3 separate regions of the Homo sapiens genome follow, and all the other regions are linked to region 1. Evidence: promoter capture Hi-C in human tissues and cell types (Jung and others, 2019). All regions are on one chromosome and are shown on one strand. Each heading gives the region's core, a stretch centred on a gene start or on the middle of the fragment in contact. The rest is flanking DNA. Distances are from core to core; before and after follow the strand shown. Region 1 holds the start of KCNS2 (potassium voltage-gated channel modifier subfamily S member 2). Region 2 overlaps STK3 (serine/threonine kinase 3). Region 3 has its middle 39 kb from the start of NIPAL2.

Region 1 (4,071 bases), core at 372-2,871:
GACCCCATCACCACCAGGATGGACAGGATGCTGAAGACCCTGCTCAGCACTGAGTAGCCGGGGTTGTCCAGCGCCAGCCACAGCTGCCTGCGGAAGTTGCCGAGGGGCTGCCCATCGAACTTGGAGGCGTCGTTGTAGAAGGCAAGGATCTCATCGAAGGAAGACGTGGTGCTCTCCTGGTCACTCTGCTCGTCCCACTTCTCCTGCTCGGGCTCTACTTTGCGGCCATGGTAGCTGTAGCTGCAGCAGGAGTCAATGAAGAACTCGTTGATGCCCCAGTACTCGATCTCCTGGCTGAAGGAGAAGACACATAGCTCAGCCATGACGTGAAGCTTGCCGGTGTGATAGAAATGCAGCACGTAGGGGAAGAGCTCAGGGTTGCGGTCGAAGTAGAACTCCCGCTGGACGTCGTCGTAGTCATCGCAGAGCTCCAGAATGGCCTCGCGCGAGTGGCAGAGCAGCAAGCGGCCCAGGCGCGTCTCGGGGAAGCGCAGCAGCGTGTGCGAGCGCAGCCTCCTCTTGAAGCCGCCCACATTGATGCGGATCTCCCCGTCCTCGACGTTAGCCTCCGACACGTCCCACAGGCTCTGGCCGGTCATGCTGGAGGCGCCGGCCGCCCGCGCCGCGCGGGGGCGCTACACCTGGAAGCGGAGGGAACAGCGTCGGCGAGAGCGCCGTGCGCCCTGGCGGGGCCCCCTCTCCCTACCCATTACTGGCGGGCCCAGGCCTCCTGGTGGGTCTTGGGTGCTGAAGGGCTGGGCTGGGGCAAGAGTTTGAGGGGTCTGATCCCCTCCCAGGAAAGGCTGGGGGTGGGTATGTTTCTATTAGCACAGCTCCACCCCAGGGGTCTCGGTGGGCGCTTTGCGCGTGCGGGGTCGCGTCCCCGCGGCTCTGAGCGCCCAGGGGGCTGCATGCTGACCTTGTCCATGGGCAGGCCCGGGAGACGCCCCCGCCCGCTCGCCGCAGACAGGCGGGACCGGAGCTGAGATACGCACGGGCAGGGCCGGGCCGACACGGGGGGCGCGTAGCTTTGGTGGGGTGGGGGGGATGCGCTGGAGTCTGGAAACCCGGGCCGCGGGAATGAGGGGGGCGGCCCGGCCTCCCCTGGGTCCAGATCCCACGCCTGCAGCCCCCGCGTCCCCGGCCCAGGTCTCCCTGCCGGCCTGGCGCTATGCCCCGGGGCCGCGTGCGCTGCGCCTCACCCAGCGGGGCTGCCCGGGCTCGCCCTGCGCGTTCTGGAAGCGCTTACCTGGGAGCACGGGTGCCCGCGGCCGAGGCCGGCGGGAAACTTCCCCAACCCGCGGGCGAGCATCGCGGCGGTGGCCGCTGCCTGCTGGCGGTGCGTGCGCGGGTGCGAGTGTGTGCGCCCGGCGGGCCGGCGGGCGGGGGCCGCCGAGCGTCTCCTCCCGTCTCGGGCCGGGTACGCCGCCGCCGCCCGCAGCTGCCGAAGGCTCACAGGTGGCTGCGTGGTCCCGCCGCTCCCGGAGCCCCCTCTCCGGATCCGCGCGCCCCTCACCCACCCAGAGAGGCAGGAACCCGCGCCGCATTCGCCCCGTGAGCCGGGGCGGGAGCAGAGCGGGTGTGACGGGGCGCCCGCCCTGCGCGGGGCGCGGCGCGGTGGTGCTGAACGGACAGCTCCGCGTGCCTCGGCCGCCGCCCGGGCTCGGAAGGCGCAGCCGCCGCCGCCGCTGCTTCTCTGCGCTTCCCCGGCGCGTCACCGCGACCACCTTGCGCCCCCGGCTCGGCGCGGGGCCGACACCTCTCCCTTCCCCCCGACCATCCCCCGGTGACAGCTGTTATTATCACCACCCCCAGGGCGCAGGCAGGGGGCTGCCTACGGTGACCTTTCCCCGCTGGGTCTGGCGGGAGCTGGGCTGGGAAATAAAGGGCGGCTTGCGCGTGTCCGGGGACAGGGCGGGACCGGAGGAACTCCAGGTGTCCCCTTTTAGGGACCTGAAGAAAAGTTTCCCGAAGCCCGGGGGTGGGGTTGTTGGGGAACAGGAGCTGGAGGGGAAAAGAGGGGGCCGGGAAGTCCAAGGTGGAGATCGGCTTAGTACGCGGGGGGCGGGAGCGCAGGCCGCACGGCGGGGGCGGGAGTCGCTGAGTTCTGGTCGGGAGCTCTGTGTGGGCACAGTTTGTGTCCAGGCCGGTGTGGTGTGCTGGCTGTGCGGGACTGCAGGGCGCTGTGTGTGTATGTAGGCTGAGGACAGCAGGACTTTTCAGTGTCTGTGTGTACCGCGTTCATTAAAATGGGTCCTCTGTCGGATGGGAAGATGCGTCGGCACAGGGGGGACCTGGGACGTGTGTCAGCGCAGTGTGTGGCATGGGGAACCGTGTGCTGTGTGTACATGTGCTGTGTACAGTGTAGTACTCTTGGGACTGTGACGGGCTCATGTGTGTGGAATATGTTGAGAGCGGTGTGCTTGCCGACAGTGGGGACTGGGGGGTTCAAGCTGGAGTGGGGACTGGTAGATGTGCTCAGGATCTGTGTCCCTATTCCTAAGAAGACTCGTGGCCCAGATCTGAGCTCTTGGTCTGCTGGGATTGTCCTTAAGGCCCTGCCTACTGGGCTGAGCTGAGAAATGGACCCAGTCCCTGGGGAGCCCCCTCCCTTTGGTGTTTCTCTGTGGTGTCCACTTGCAAAGACTGGAGCACCGTGGTTGTGTGAGCTTAGCAGGGAGCTAGCGTCTACATGTCTCGGTCAGAAGTCCTGGGAATGCCCTTGCAGGGTGGCTCTGGATTCATGGTGCAACCACCACTGCCACAGTGGGAAGTACATTCTTTCTTTACGCAATCCTGGCAATGCCGTCCCAGCTGAAAAGGTGCTCTGTGTAGCTCTGGAGGGCTTGGGGCCTCCTTGGAGGACCTGTAGAGGACCGTTAATCTGGCTTCGAATGGGGGCTCCTGCATCCAAGTCTGACCCATCCCTGTGACCCACTGGCTTCTGGACATGTGTGTGGGTGTGAATGCAGGTGTGTTTCCTGCTGAGAGGGCTTCACACCCATGCCCCTGCAGGCCTCTGCAAATGTGGTGGATTCCACAGAGGCAGCCACATGGGAGAGGGATAGTAGGGTAGTGAGGGCCACACACACTTCCTCTTTCTTGTGTATGACCTTTCCCCAGGCTTTGGGAAACTTTTCTTCAGGTCCCTAAAAGAGGAATCCAGTCCTCCATTCTGCCCTACCCTCAAACACACACAAGCCACCCTTTATTTCCCAGTGTGTTTGTGTGTGTGTGTGTGTGTGTGTGTCTGAGAGGGAGAGACGGAGAAAAATCTGATCTTGGTTATCCTTGTCTTCATCTCCCTTTCTTTCAGGGTCTGTGTGTGGACAGCAGCCTCTATCTAGGTCTGCTGGGTCCATCATTGGAGGTCTGTGGCTCCCACACACCTGGCTGCAGTCTGGGAGCCCCTGGATCTCCTTCATCCCCATGGGGGTGCTGTGGAGAGAGTGCCACCCTTGCTGAGGGGGTGTGTGCTTCAGTGCATTTATAATCCCTGTGTCAGTGCCTCTTTCACCCTTTTCCAATCCCCCCTTCCACACCTTCGGCGGGGTGATGGTGGCTGCAAGGTGTCTCTGCTGCAGGGGCCTGAGCAGCAGCACCTACGGGACAGCCTTCATGGGCCCTGTGGCTCTCCCTAGCTCTCACCCCTATCCTTTCACTACGAGCTGCCTGCCTTCCGGCCCCTCCAGAGCTCACAGCCCCCTTCTGTGGCTTCTGCCACATGTCGCCATTCCCAGCCGCTCCCATTCCCTTGGCCTTGGCTCCTGGCTATTCTGGTTTAGCTCAGTGCATAAATCACCTTTTTCTGCTGCATTTGGAGGGTCCTTCCTTCTACACATACTTGAGTTTGATTCCTCCAGGGCTTTCCTCCCTCCCCTGCTTCATGTATCTGCCCGCCTCCTTCTGTTCCTGTCTGTTGTTCTTTCTCCTTCATCCTCTGTGGTCGTGGGAGATTTCACCCATGGAGAGAGAGCCCTCTGCCTTCTGTTTTTCTTTGTTTCTTCCACACCCACGGCCACCCCACCTGCAGACCAGGCTCTGCCTGGGCCCCTGGGGCTCTCACCCTCC
Region 2 (4,094 bases), core at 1,200-3,699, 80 kb before region 1:
CACTGTACATTTTACATAGACACATCTATTTATAATTATGAGCATAAATTATAAGTGTAATTTCTGAGATGCTTAAAGATATAATAAAATTTATATTGTTATACCAATCTTAAGAGTGCCTAGGAAAACTTTAAAGAACCACCCAAGAAACTGCCATTTAATTCTGTCTAAATATATTTTGTCCAAGTTAAGAAAAGGAAAGATATTTTGTTCGTATAATTATTTTGCCTTCTGCAAGCTCCCTTTCATCATATGCTGAATCTCTAGCAGGTTAGATCATTAAACTTTTCAGATGAAAAAAAAAGATGGTTGGGGAAAGACTAGTTAGTACCTGATTGGGCAAATGTGGGTCGAGTTTTGAAAACCTTTTTATTTTTTTAGATGAGTTTCCCTGAGTTTTTGTTTACTCAATTTATAAGGTATGTAAGAATACATCATTAGTTCTTACCTTGACCTTTCCTAAATCTTTTGTGTCATTAAATAGAACAAGGCTATGCAGTTAAAATATTTATTTGAAAGTTTTTAGAATCCTAATAATTTTGCTTACTTTAATTAATTACTGTCAAATTGTGATAGTAATTGTTAGTCCTAAATTGTTAAGAACTTTATTTTAAATTTGTTTTCCCATAATTTTCCCCAAAATTGTTTTATTTCTTAAGCAATCCAAAACATAACCAGCCACAGCCACATAAAAATTTTTAATAAAAACTTTATTGAGATATAATTCACACACCATATAACTCACCCATTTAAAGTATGTAATTCAATGGTTGTTTAGTACATATACAGTTTTGTAGCTGGCACTATAATCCATTTCAGAATATTTTCATCATTATCCCAAAAAGAAACCCTGTACCCACTAGTAGTCACTTCCCATTTCCTCCCAACACCCTTTTCTTTTTCTAGTCCTAGGCAGCCACTGGTCTACTTCTTGTCTCTGTGGATTTGCCTGTCTTGACATTTTGTGTAAGTAGAATCATACAATATGAGCCACAACTATTCCTTCTACCTTTCTAGTAGATAGGTGATTATTACAGCAGGGTGACTGTAATATTGCTGTAACTTAGGAATTTGCCACCTATGATAATAGTTAACATAAAGTGTTTCCTGAAGCAGTATAGATAAAAACTTGAAGTCTGAAATAAAATATTTGTAATGGATTCATCAGGACCTTAAATACTAGGGTAGTGCAGTCTACTTCCTATATACTAGAAATCAGTTATATGTAATACATGCCTGGCACTGTTCTAGATATTCATGATATAGCAACAAATAAACCAGACAAAAATCTCTACCTTCACAAAGCATATACTGTAATGGAGAAAACAGTCAATAACCATAATAAATTAGTAAAGTATACAGTTTGCTAAAAGACGATAAGTACTTTGGAGAGAAAAAAGAACCACGTAAGGTAATGAGGCCGGTGTTGGGGTAAAGGGCTTGCAATATTGAGTAGAATGGTTGGAGAAGGCTTCATTGAGAAAGTGACAATTGAATAAAGACTTGAAGGAGGTAAAGGACCAAGCAGGGAGTGAGCCATCCGGATATCTGAAGGAAGAACATTCCAAGTAGAGGGACCAGCAAAGACTCTGAAGTGGAAGCTTCCTTTGGTGTGTTGGGGGAACACTAAAGTGATACATTGATTTTGGGCAGCTGAATGAGTGAGGGCCAGAACATAAGAAGATGAAGTTGGAGAGCAGGATAGGGAAGTGGTAGGGTGCACCAGATGGTAGGCTTCTGAAGGTATTGTAAAGATTTGGGCATTTGTTCTAAAAGAAATATGTAGCCATAGAGAAATAACTTGATCTCTAACTGACTGACTTTAAAAAGTTTACTCTGACCACATTTCAGAATTGATTGAGTGGGGCAAGGGTAGAAGCAGTCATCCGGGCAAAGAGCACCAGAGACAGTAAGAACTGGTCAGGTTCCTGATAACTTTTTAATATATAGGCAACAAAATTGTATAACTGACTGAATATGAGAATGAAAGATCCGGGATAATTCCAAGGTTTTTTGTTTGAACAGCCAGGATGGTGTTGCCTATAACTGAACTGGGGAAGACTGTGGGTGGAACTTGTTGGCTGGGAAGTTCTTCTGCATCCAGGTGGGCATACCAAATATACGATTGTGTGTCCAAATTGGGAGTTCAAGGGAGAGTTCTAGGCTGGAATTTGTGGTAATCAGTATATAGATGGTATTTAAAACCATGAGACTGAATGGGATCTTCAAAGGACTCTCCAAAGAAATGAGTATATATAGAGAAGAAAAGGGGTCTGTATTCATTTCCCATGGCTGCTGTAACAAAGAAATGAGTATATGTAGAGAAGGGAAGGGGTCTGTATTCATTTCCCATGGCTGCTGTAACAAATTACCACAAATTGAGTGGCTTAAAACAGTAGAAATGTGTTGTTTTACAGTTCTGGAGCCAGGAATCCAAACTAAATCTTAACGGGGCTAAACCTGAGTTGTAGCAGGGCCACACCTTCTCTGGGGAAATTTGAACTAAGTGTTATGAGGCTAAATCATGCTATCAGCAGGGCTACAATCCCTCCAAATACTCTAGCAGAGAATCTCTTTTACTTTTCAGTATCTGGAGCTGCATTCGTTGAGTCTTTGGTTCTTTCTCCATTTTCTTTCTTTTTTTTTTCTTTTGATGGAGTCTTGCTCTGTCGCCTAGGCTGGAGTGCAGTGTGGTGCAATCTCAGCTCACTGCAACCTCTGCCTCCTGGGTTCAAGCAGTTCTCTTGCCTCAGCCTCCCAAGTAGCTGGGATTATGGGCATCTGCCACTTCACCTGGCTAATTTTATTATTAGTAGAGACATGGATTCCATTCCAAGATGGCCAAATAGGAACAGCTCCGGTCTGCAGCTCCCAGTGTGATTGACGCAGAAGACGGTGATTTCTGCATTTCCAATTGAGGTACCTGGTTCATCTCACTGGGACTGGTTGGACAGTGGGTGCAGCCCACGGAGGGCAAGCTGAAGCAGGGCAGGGCATCACCTCACCCAGGAAGCACAAGGGGTCAGGGGATTTCCCTTTCCTAGCCAAGGGAAGCCGTGACAGACTGTACCTGGAAAAACGGGATGCCTCCACCTAAATACTGTGATTTTCCAGTGGTCTTAGCAGAAGGCACACCAGGAGATTATATCCCATGCCTGGCTTGGCGGGTCTCATGCCCACGGAGCCTTGCTCACTGCTAGTGCAGCAGTCTGAGATCAACCTGCAAGGCAGCAACCTGGCAGGGGGAGGGGCATCCGCCATTGCTGAGGCTTGAGTAGGTAAACAAAGCAGCCTGGGAAGCTCAAACTGGGTGGAGCCCACTGCAGCTCTGCAAGGCCTGCTGACTCTATAGACCCCACCTCTGGGGGCAGGGCATAGCTGAACAAAAGGCAGCAGAAACTTCTGCAGACTTAAACGTCCTTGTCTGACAGCTCTGAAGAGAGTAGTGGTTCTCCCAGCATGGTGTTCGAGCTCTGAGAACAGACAGACTGCCTCCTCAAGTGGGTCCCTGACCCCTGTGTAGCCTAACTGGGAGACACCTCCCAGTAGGGGCCAACTGACACCTCACACAGCCAGATGCCCCTCTGGGATGAAGCTTCTAGAGGAAGGATCAGGCAGCAATATTTGCTGTTCTGCAGCCTCCACTGGTGATACCCAGGCAAACAGAGTCTGGAGTGGTCCTCCAGCAGACTCCAACAGACCTGCAGCTGAGGGACCTGATTCTTAGAAGGAAAACTAACAAACAGAAAGGAATAGCATCAACATCAACATAAAGGTCATCTACACCAAAACCCCATCGGTAGGTCACCAGCATCAAAGACAAAAGGTAGATAAAAACCACAAAGATAAGGAGAAACCAGAGCAGAAAGCTGAAAATCCTAAAAACAAGAGCACCTCTTCTCCCCAAAAGGATGGCAGCTCCTCACCAGCAATGGAACAAAACTGGACAGAGAATGACTTTGATGAGCTGACAGAAGTAGGCTTCAGAAGGTTGGTAATAACAAACTTCTCTGAGCTAAAGGAGGATGTTCGAACCCATTGCAAGGAAGCTAAAAGCGTTGAAAAAAGATTAGACTAATGGCTAACTAGAATAA
Region 3 (4,218 bases), core at 1,394-3,893, 94 kb after region 1:
CAGAAGGCTGGGTGTCTTTCTGGATATCGTACATTGTTTCATCGCAATGCTACATCTTTCCTAATTTTTTCTCTTTGCATCCTTCAGTTTCTTCCATTTGTGATGATGTAATCCTAATGAAAAGCCTCAGCTGATGTGAATGGACAGGTGATGTGAAACACAGTATTCAATTCCACAAATGTTTATTGACAGCCTACTAGGGCCAGGCCCTGCACCAAAGACTAAGCTTGAAGTGGGTAAACATAGAATCCTTGCCACTATTTTGTAGAGCCATATTTGTAATCCTGCTAAATATACTATCTATCTATCTATCTATCTATCTATCTATCTATCTATCTATCTAATAGCACATTTTCCAGACGAGAAGGGCACTGTTAATTCCACAGAGGGGACGGGACAAGGACAGCTTTAGAGGCAGAATGAGGTTGGAGCCAACTTTTGAAGCAAAGCAGAAATTTCTTCAGGAAGTGAAGACAGAGCAGGCATTCCAGATACTCATTCATTTGTTCATTTGGTCACTTTCTTTACTGGACATTTATTGAGTTTGCTATGGTGTGGCAGGTATTGGGGCAACAATAGTGAATAACAGTCCTGCCATTTAGGGAATGCAGAGTCCAGTGTTAGAAGCTGGCAAGAGCCAGGCCATGACCACACAGTGGGAGAAGAGCAACAATGAGTAGCTGGCATGATGTGTGTGGCCCTCTTTATGGCCCCGCATGCTTCCAGCCTGGAAAACATTTGTAGGGGTGAGTCAAGGATGGTGTCCTAAGGGAGATGACATCCCAGCTGAGAACTAAAGGTTGAGTAGGCATTGTCCATGTGAGACTAAAGCAGAATATTCTAGGCAAAAGGGCCTTTTCATGCAAAGGCTGAAGAATGAAGAGGCCCATTTAGGAGGATAGTGAGAGATGAGGCTGGAGAGGTAAGCTGGGACGAGGTCATGAGGGCCGTTTGAAGGAATCTGGACTTTATTCTTATGGCAAGGGGAAATTATTAGAAGCCTTAAGCATGGACATGCCATGTTCAGGCTTGCATTTTAGAAAGATCATTCTGGCTACTGAGTAGAGGATGGTTTGCAGGGGAGAAGGAAGACCAGTTCAAAGGTGGCGGCAGTAATTCAGGTGAGAAATGATGAGGGCCTAGGAATGGGTGGTAACAGTAGGCAGGGATGGAGAGAAATGACCCAAGTAGCACCTGCACATGCCCATAAGCACCAAAGAATGCAGTGGAGCTGAGAGATCCCACGTAAGGTGGTCATAGCCCAGAGTAGAGAGCAGAAATGGATGGGAACCGAGGCTGGAGCCAAATGTTGGGACCTCTAATGCTACACTAAGAAGTTTGGAATTCACTCCAGAGGCAACAGTAAGCCATTGAAGGCTTGAAGGAAAAGAAGATTATAATTCTGATATCCCAAAAGGGTAGATTCGCAACAGAAGAAACAGTTGCCATTTTGGTTAATGTAACAGTCTAGGTGCAAAACTTGAGCCAAGTTGTTGACTCTCTCAGCCTATCAGATGATATCTCTACCTCAACTGTAATGTGGACATAGTAGTCTTTAAAATGGGTAAAATGGGTAAAAATCTATTTTATAAGACTAAAGAGGATTATGAAGGTTCATGAGTTAATATGTAAAATGATTAGGATCATGTCTGATACATAGTCTATTAATCAGAGTTCTCTGGAGAAACAGAACCAACAGGCTATGTCTATATATGGTTTTGGCTCTATGGAGGCTGAAAACTCTCAAGAGGGACCATCTGCACACTGGAGACCTGGGAAAGTTGGTGGTGTCATTCGAAGGCCTGAAAGCTGGAGGGCAGGTGGTGTAGTTTCCAGTCCAGACCTGAAGGCCTGAGAACCAAGAGCGCTATGTCCCAGCTCAAGCAGCCCGGCCAAGAGCATATTTGATCTTCCTCCTTTTTGTTCTATTCAGTCCCTCAACAGATGAGATGTGACCCACCCACATTAAGGAGGGCCATCTGCTTTACCAATTCAAATGTTCATCTTTCCGCAAATACTCCCTAGATAGATACACCCTGGAATGATGTTTAACTGTGCCCCAGTCTGAGCATCCTGTGGCCCAGTCAAGTTGATGCATTAAATTAACCTTCACACATAGTAAACATTTGGTGTTAGCTTTATTTGTTTACTAATTGTCATGAGAATTAAATTACATGGTGTATATAAAATTCTCAGAAGTGATGGTCCATACACATTAATCAATAAATAATAAGTATTGCTATTAGTTTTTTTATTTTGTTATTAGTGCTGAGGTTATGAAGTTGGGCTATGACCCTGGAGAGCCAAGAGGAGTGAATCACGTCAGCAATGTCATGCTGAATATAAATCTTGATTTAAAAACACTCCCCAAAAATAAAAGAGAGAGAAGGGCTCTCTTTTCATTATATCAGGGCAGTTGGATGTAAGAAAGCTGGCGAATTTATTCTGAAATATTATGATAAGATTAAGAAAAATGGGCATATGGTGAGAATTATTTGTTAGGTTTCAAACATCTCAAATTCCTATATTTGAGTATCCTAAAAAAAATTGTATGCACAGACTGTATTGTCAGTACAAATATTTGCAAAAGTGAGTTACTTCATTCCAGACTAGATTCTTTTTGTTATATGAAAGTTTCAGAGCTTGCCCTTTCTAGGTCAGTGAGACATAAAATTGGCTGATTTTTTTTTTCCTTTACCTACACACAGAAGGGTGTTTACCCTAAAAATCAAACAAAGCAGAAAATGTGCAGTATTTGAAATCTTTGGCTCCACACAGGGAGAGCCTCTGACAGCAGCTCTGCAGCTGGCCTTAGGAATTGCCACCATGCTGTGGAAGTCTGCACCTTCCAGAGTGATGCAAGGACTGTGACCCAGGTTTTGGCATATTCCTCACCAAAGACCGTGTTAGAGAGACGAGCCAGGGTAAGCTCTCATCTCCTGCACAAAATATGCAAACACACAAGAATGAGACCTTCTCTTGCATTGTGTCAGAACAGCAGGAATTTTTACAAGACAATTTTGAAGGCTATAGCTGGGCACAGTGTTGAAAACCCCCCACAGGACCGATTGCAGAGTGAACACCCTGATCAAGATGGTGTCTTAAACTCCATGAACTTCCCCTGTGGGTAACAAAGCAATAAGTAATACTTGTGCAACCCTGTGAAATTATTTTCCTTTCTACGCTCCCTGGTTACTCATGTTCTCTGTACACTCGAGAACAAAATGGTGACCATTAGGCTGTGTTTACTCAGCAAGTGCTGGTGTCCTTAGGAGCCTTTTTAGCCCAATAGTCTGTGATTTTGAGAGCTGGCTCCAAACTGGCCCCAGGAAGGATCTTATTACTTTTCCAAAACACTGGAAATCATCATTTGGACACAAAAGTTAGAAGCTGCCTCAATCATCCAGTTAAAAGCAAACAGCTATGTGGTTAGGAAAGAGGTTGATTTCCCATTGCTTCCTCTGTATTGTGGTCTGTACAAGAACTTGGTACCACCTAAATCTATTGAGATCCACGCTGAATAAATAGGATGAGTTTTTAAATATGTCAATGTTTTGACCCTAGACTTGTCAATGCAATATCAACCTCACATAACTTGATACTAAGATTATCTGGGGCCAGGTGCGGTGGCTCACGCCTGTAATCCCAGCACTTTGGAAGGCCAAGGCAGGAGGATCCCTTGAGCCCAGTAGTTCAAGACCAGCCTGGGCAACACAGTGAGACCCTGTCTCAATAATAAATAGATAGACAGATGATAGATAGATAGATAGGTAGATAGATAGATAATCTGGGTATATGCACTCTTGTTCCCTCCGCCCCCCGCTTTCTCTTTCTCTTCTGTTTTGGAAATGATGGTTTTGAATTTAAATGAGATAGAGGAAAGATGAGTGAGAACAAGACATTTGGAGTACCCACAACCAACGTGAAGTTTCTGAGTTCATATTCCCTCTTCATGCCCCATTCAGATTGATTCATGAGCACACAGAAGCCTGCTGACCATATCCACAGTGCATCTAAAACCACATTTGAATGGCATTTCTTGCTGTGGTTTTGTTTGTCTGTTTGAGACAGGGTCTTGCTCTGTCATTTAAGTTGGAGTGCAGTGGCACAATCACAGCTCACTGCAACCTCGAACTCCTGGACTCAAGAAATCCTCCTGCCCTAGCCTCCCAAAGAAGTAGCTAGGACTACAAGTGCATGCGTCACCATGCCCAGCTA

Evidence for each region. Contacts are between HindIII fragments. The study calls those that stand out against the background at their distance.
Region 2: a contact is called between a fragment that was not itself captured here and the fragment with the promoter of KCNS2 in region 1, in 2 of the 25 tissues and cell types used here (H1 embryonic stem cells and adrenal gland).
Region 3: a fragment that was not itself captured here is called in contact with the fragment with the promoter of KCNS2 in region 1 in 2 of the 25 tissues and cell types used here (liver and lymphoblastoid cells).

The regions. Positions count from the first base shown.
Region 1 is chr8:98,424,508-98,428,578 of GRCh38, reverse strand. It overlaps KCNS2 (potassium voltage-gated channel modifier subfamily S member 2), which reads right to left and starts at 1,621. Exons shown (of 2, transcript NM_020697.4): 1 at 1,250-1,621; 2 at 1-641. The coding sequence starts at 599. It also overlaps a transcript of STK3 not described here. RefSeq lists a silencer at 1,522-1,721. The HindIII fragment of the contact is 18,533 bases long and covers 1-4,071 here.
Region 2 is chr8:98,505,269-98,509,362 of GRCh38, reverse strand. All of the region lies in intron 10 of STK3 (serine/threonine kinase 3), which reads left to right. Among named protein-coding and RNA genes, the nearest start is that of KCNS2, 80 kb to the right of the region's middle. The HindIII fragment of the contact is 3,985 bases long and covers 457-4,094 here.
Region 3 is chr8:98,331,468-98,335,685 of GRCh38, reverse strand. No RefSeq gene overlaps it. Among named protein-coding and RNA genes, the nearest start is that of NIPAL2, 39 kb to the right of the region's middle. The HindIII fragment of the contact is 6,430 bases long and covers 1-4,218 here.